Regions from separate parts of the Homo sapiens genome. Here region 1 is linked to region 2. Evidence: promoter capture Hi-C in human tissues and cell types (Jung and others, 2019). All regions are on one chromosome and are shown on one strand. Each heading gives the region's core, a stretch centred on a gene start or on the middle of the fragment in contact. The rest is flanking DNA. Distances are from core to core; before and after follow the strand shown. Region 1 overlaps ZSCAN5A-AS1 (ZSCAN5A antisense RNA 1). Region 2 holds the start of ZNF749 (zinc finger protein 749).

Region 1 (2,839 bases), core at 69-2,568, 1.1 Mb before region 2:
ATAATGTCCTCCAATTCTATCCATGTTGCAGCAAATAACATTTTATTCTTTTTTATGGCTGAATAATATTCCATTGTGTATATGTATCATATTTTGTTCTTCAGTTGGTCAAGAGGTATATGAAACTCTGTTCAACATCAGCACATCAGGGAAATGCAAATCAAAACCACAATGAGAAATTATCTCACTCCAGTTAAAATGGCTTTTATCAGAAAGCCAAAAAATAATGGATGCTGGTGAGGATGCAGAGTAAGGGGAACCCTCGTACAATGTTGGTGGGAAAGTAAATTAGTACAGCCACTATGGAAAACTGTGGTGGTTCATCAAACAACTAAAAATAGAATCCCCATGTGACTGGCATTCCCACTGCTGTGTACATGTTCAAAAAAAAAAAAAAAAAAGGAAGTTAGTAGGTCAAAAAGATATCTGCCCTCCCACATTTACTGACACAAATTTCTGAGGGCCTGTGGAGGAAAAGTTAAATATTAAGTTTGAATTCAATTGAACATGGCCACAAACAATGGTCACCAAGTCCTGGAACAGGTTGTGTGAGCCCCTTGAGGCATTCACCCAGCACTGTTTTGGAGAACTGTCTATTTCAATCTATTCCTATACATTAGTTATTGAAAAACAATAGACAACCACAAAAAAAAGTTGACCTTTTTGTGTTCCTTGAGCCCAGTCGTGAAGGGCCCTTGTGACTGGGCCTCATGTCAAACAACTCCTTACAAAAAGAACTAGGGTCCCAGACTGCGTTGAAGCTTCATGAGACCTCTCATTTTCTGTGCATGGACGAGTGTCTGACTCTGGAGCCTAGGCTGTTGCTTCCCAGCCTGGTGGTGAATCCTCCATAGTCTGGTGAGTGTAAATAGATGTATATCTTTTCCCTTCTTCCCTCCCCATTGCAATTTGCTTATTATATCCATTTGCTTATTATATAATTTGCTTATTCTATCTACATTGCCATTTACGTGGGATAAAGGTTGTTTACCCTTAAAGGTATTGTGTGTGTGTCTTTTCTTCTCCCCTCACACGTTTCCCACACAGAATGGGGCCCCTCCCCAGAAACTGTCTTCCTTCCTAATGTCCCGCTTTATGGGAGCTCAGTTCAAGATGAGATTTGGGTGGGGACACAGCCAAACCATATCAATGACTGCTTTGTTTGGCCCAGATTCCAGTTGTATCTACTGGGAGAGGAATTATCCCCTGAAAGAGAACAGGGAGGTCATGGGGCTTAGCTTGCTAGGTTCCCTTCTTGTGTGAATTTCACTCTTGCATGACCTTTTATCCCTGCCTGAAAACTGTTGCCAGATAGAATGCATCCAGGTTTGTTGTTTTCTGTATCAGGAAGTCCAGTCTAGCACCAGTCACTCTGTCATCACCAGAAGTAGACACTTAAAAAAAAAAATAGCGTTTGAAGGGGTTAAGGAGGGAGAATTCATTAGATTAGTGAGGCAGATATACTGGTTATCTGTTGTTGTTGTTGTTGTTGCTGTTTTCAGGATTTCAGGGCCTAGATTTTATGACAAGAAATATTTCAAGAGGATTAGAGTGTGGTGTTAAAGAATTAAGAAGACAATATATATTGAGTGCCTTTTGCCAGCTTTGAGTTTTGATTAACAAAAAATTACATATATTTAGAGTGTACAATGGGATGTCTTGATGTATGTATATATTGTGGTTTTTTTTTTTGAGATGGAGTCTTGCTCTGTTGCCCAGGCTGGAGTGCAGTGGTGTGATCTCCGCTCACTGCAAGCTCCACCTCCCGGGTTCACGCCATTCTCCTGCCTCAGCCTCCTGAGTAGCTGGGACTACAGGCCCCCGCCACCACGCCCAGCTAATTTTTTTTTTTGTATTTTTAGTAGAGACGGGGTTTCACCGTGTTAGCCAGGATGGTCTCGATCTCCTGACCTCGTGATCGGCCCGCCTCGGCCTCCCAAAATGCTGGGATTACAGGCGTGAGCCACCACGCCTGGCCTGATATACGTATATATTGTAAAATGTCTAAAACAAGCTAATAAATATATCCACATCTCACAGTTACCATTGTGTGTGTGTGTGTGTGTGTGTGTGTGTGTGGTGAGAACATTTGAGATAACTCTTGAAAAATTTCAAGTACACATTAGGATTCTCTATGTTCACCATGCTATACATTAGGTCTCTAACAGTATTTCATCTTATAGCTGAAAGTTTCTGCCCTTAGACAAGCATCTCCCCAATCCCCCAACCCTCCACCCCTGGTAACTGCCATTCTACTCTCTGTTACTACTCTCTGAGTTTGACTTTTTAATATTCCACATATAAATGGGAATCACGCAGTATGTGGCTCTCTGTGCGTGGCTTATTTCACTTCCCATAGTGTACCGCTGGGTGCCTTTCAGTACTGGGCGATTAACTGCAAATGACACCCCCACCCACACATGCTCTCACGTAAATGTGCGGCATCTCTCCCTCCACTTCACTAATGGTACAAATCCCACTAGATCTCGAGTCTCCTCTGCTTTGATTTCCATCATGGGCCCTAATATGCAACATATTGATGCGCTGCTCATAATCAATCATGCCAAGTCTTCTTCATGCCTGTGGCTTCCTCTTCAACACATAAAGAAACCAGCCTTGAGCAGAACATAGCAGCTGAAAGACACTCCTTACACTTTGCTCTGTACCCATCATTCACTCATCCAGCAAACATTCACTCAGTGCTATATGCTGACCCACCTACAATGCCCTTCACGAGTTGAGGTTGTGCTTAACCTCAAAATAGTCATGTGACACTTACATGAATATAGAAAAGCTACAGTGATTTTTTTTTTTTGTTAGAGATAGAGTCTAATTTCAG
Region 2 (2,748 bases), core at 21-2,520:
GAGGCTTCATCTGCATGATATAACCTTGGTCTTCACAACCCCTTGTCTTTTTTTGTTTTTGAGACGGAGTTTCGCTCTTGTTGCACGGGCTGGAGTACAATGGCGAGATCTCGGCTCACCGTAACCTCCGCCTCCCGGGTTCAAGCGATTCTCCTGCCTCAGCCTCCCGAGTAGCTGGCATTACAGGCATGTGCCACCATGCCCGTCTAATTTTGTATTTTTAGTAGAGATGGGGTTTCTACATGTTGGTCAGGCTGGTCTCGAACTCCCAACCTCAGGTGATCCGCCCACCTCGGCCTCCCAAAGTGCTGGGATTACAGGCGTGAGATACCACGCCCGGCCCACAACCCCTTAACCCAGACAACCATTTCTACTGATTCCAGGTCTTTAGATACAAACTCTTTCAACCAATTGCCAATCGGAAAATCTTTGAACCCACCTGACCTGGAAGCCCCGCCCCTCCCTTCCAGTTGCGCCTTTCCAGAGGAATCCAATGTACATTTTACATGTATTGATTGATGTCTTACGTCTTCCTAAATTGTTAAAACCAAGCTGTAGATGGGCCACCCTGGGCATATGTTCTTAGGATATCTTGGAGCCGTGTCATGGGCCATTAGTCACTCATATTTGTCTCAGAATAAATCTCTTCAACTATTTCACAAAGTTCCACCCTTTTCGTCGACAGAAAGATATTCCTCCTTCAACTCTCCATCACATCCTGTGTGGGTCTTTTCTTTCTTGTCCCAACAGAAGCACACTAACGATCAAAAAAAAGTCTCCAGAGCCTCAGTATGTGTGTACTTGACAAGCACAAAAGAGCTGACCGCTATGAATGGAGGACCAGTTCATTATGGTCAGCCATGTCGCTTCTGATGTTCTTCCTTTCGGGACTTGCTGTGCTTCAGAGAATCTGAAACGACAGGTCTCTGAAATATTTCTCAGACTTGTCCTAGACTGCTCTCCGGGAAAATCTGGTTACTTGCAGTTTAGGAGTCAGCAAAGCCCCTCCACGTCCTTAAGAGCCCCGGAACTGCATTTCTTAACGCTCCTCCAGGAGCCTCCAGCTTTTTTCCGTAAGGTCCGCGCGCCCAGCATTGTGAGGCGAGGCAGGCAGCAGCGTGGGAACTACATTACCCAGAAGACACTGCGGGCGACACAGGCAGCAACGTGAGAACTACATTACCCAGAAGACACTGCGGGGGCAGGGCAGCGAGTGTAGCCATTGGTCTAGCAGAGAGACGACTAATGAGGTCTCAATTGTGTGGGCGGGACTTCTGGCGGCGCCCTCATGGTTGCGTTAGCATGGCTACCTAGGGATCTGTTCACTGATTTAGAGGGTCCCAGAGCTCTGGGTCGGGACTGAGGTGAAAGAGCGGAAAAACGCGAGAAGCGGTGTTCCTTCTACACAGAGGCTAGAGTGCGGATCGGCTGAGTCGGCTGCAGGCGCCCCTGCCTCCGTCAGCGTCCAGGTGACCGCCGTTCCCGCCCCGCTCTTCCCTGGGTGGACTGGAGGAGGCCGCGCCGATGAACCTGACCGAGGTGCGTGCAGCGTCCCAGGCCGCCCCGCCCAACCCCTCCTCCCAGTGCTGAAGTCCCAAGGAGCCGCCCTGCAGGTTAGGCCCTTGTGTCTCTAAGAGAGGGGCGTTCTTGTGTGGGGTGCCCGGGACTGGGACTGCGGTGCGATGAGGCGGGGGAGCTCCCGTCGGAGACCGACACGTCTCTGGGGCTTGGAGGCACTGCAGAACGGGCGGCACTGGGGAGCCCGAGCGTCTTTGTCTCCAAGGAGCAGAGGTTGAGGCGGAGTCTCCCCTGGAAGGGCAGTGGAGCCGCAGAGAGCCATAGAGGGCTGTGCAGGGAGGACGAATGGGAGGGTCACGCCCAGAGTTAGAAGTTTAAAGTTGGGGAAAACAGGATGTTGAACGGGGGCAGGGGGACCGCTGAGGAGACCCCTTGAGTTATGGTAGGGCTGGGCCAGAGGGGTTGCAGTAGAGGGGAGATGTGATGAGACTCTGGATGGATCTCAGAGATAGGGTCAACAGGATTTCCTGCTGCATCAAACATAGCTGTGAGGGAAAGTCGGTAGTGAATGGTGTCTTCCATAGGTTTTGTTTTGGCCTGAAAAATCTGAAAGAATGGAATTAGAGATATCAGCTTAAGGAGCGGGTTTCAGACAGAAGATCCTGGGTTGGATTTTGGGCGACATCACATGGGTAGGTGGACGTAATTTCCAAAGGTGAGGGAAGGTAGCTGGCCTGGAGCTTTAAATGAGTTAGAAGTTGTGCACTTGAGAAGTTGGCCTGTGGATCAGATTGAGAAGGAAGAATCCTACATCGTTTTTTCATATGGGCTGAGGTAGGGGAGGGCTCAGATTTGGAGGAAAGACCATGGTAGGGAGGGCATCTCTGATACTCCCTGCAGAAGGGAGCAGATATGGGCTAAGAGTCTGGTCTGTTTCTGTTGAAAAAGAGGCCTGGATGGATAAGGAGTTGCCCTGGAATACAGAGACTGAGGCATGAGATAATTGTAGTCACTCCACCCTTCTAACTCAGCTGGCCCTGAGGGCCACTCTTTAGGGAACAAGATAAGGCCATGCAGCAACTGGGTCCAAAACTGGGCAGGGCTTTCTCACATCCTCCACCACAGTTAAGGGCCTCCAGCAAGCTCCCTTTACTGCATTATATGGCAGGCTGACCTGTTTGCTGAACGGACCAGTAACTGATTGACTGCTCAGCCCCATCCTACAACTCA

Evidence for each region. The method cuts DNA at HindIII sites, captures the fragments that hold promoters and counts their contacts. A contact is called where the count stands out against the background at its distance.
Region 1: a contact is called between a fragment that was not itself captured here and the fragment with the promoter of ZNF749 in region 2, in 1 of the 25 tissues and cell types used here (aorta).

What each region holds. Positions count from the first base shown.
Region 1 is chr19:56,324,259-56,327,097 of GRCh38, forward strand. The region is part of intron 1 of ZSCAN5A-AS1 (ZSCAN5A antisense RNA 1); the gene reads left to right. It also overlaps a transcript of ZSCAN5A not described here. Among named protein-coding and RNA genes, the nearest start is that of ZSCAN5A, 11 kb to the left of the region's middle. The HindIII fragment of the contact is 7,309 bases long and covers 1-2,839 here.
Region 2 is chr19:57,434,055-57,436,802 of GRCh38, forward strand. ZNF749 (zinc finger protein 749) reads left to right here and starts at 1,271. Exons shown (of 3, transcript NM_001023561.4): 1 at 1,271-1,539. The coding sequence starts at 1,525. RefSeq lists enhancers at 856-1,155, 1,786-1,835. The HindIII fragment of the contact is 7,932 bases long and covers 1-2,748 here.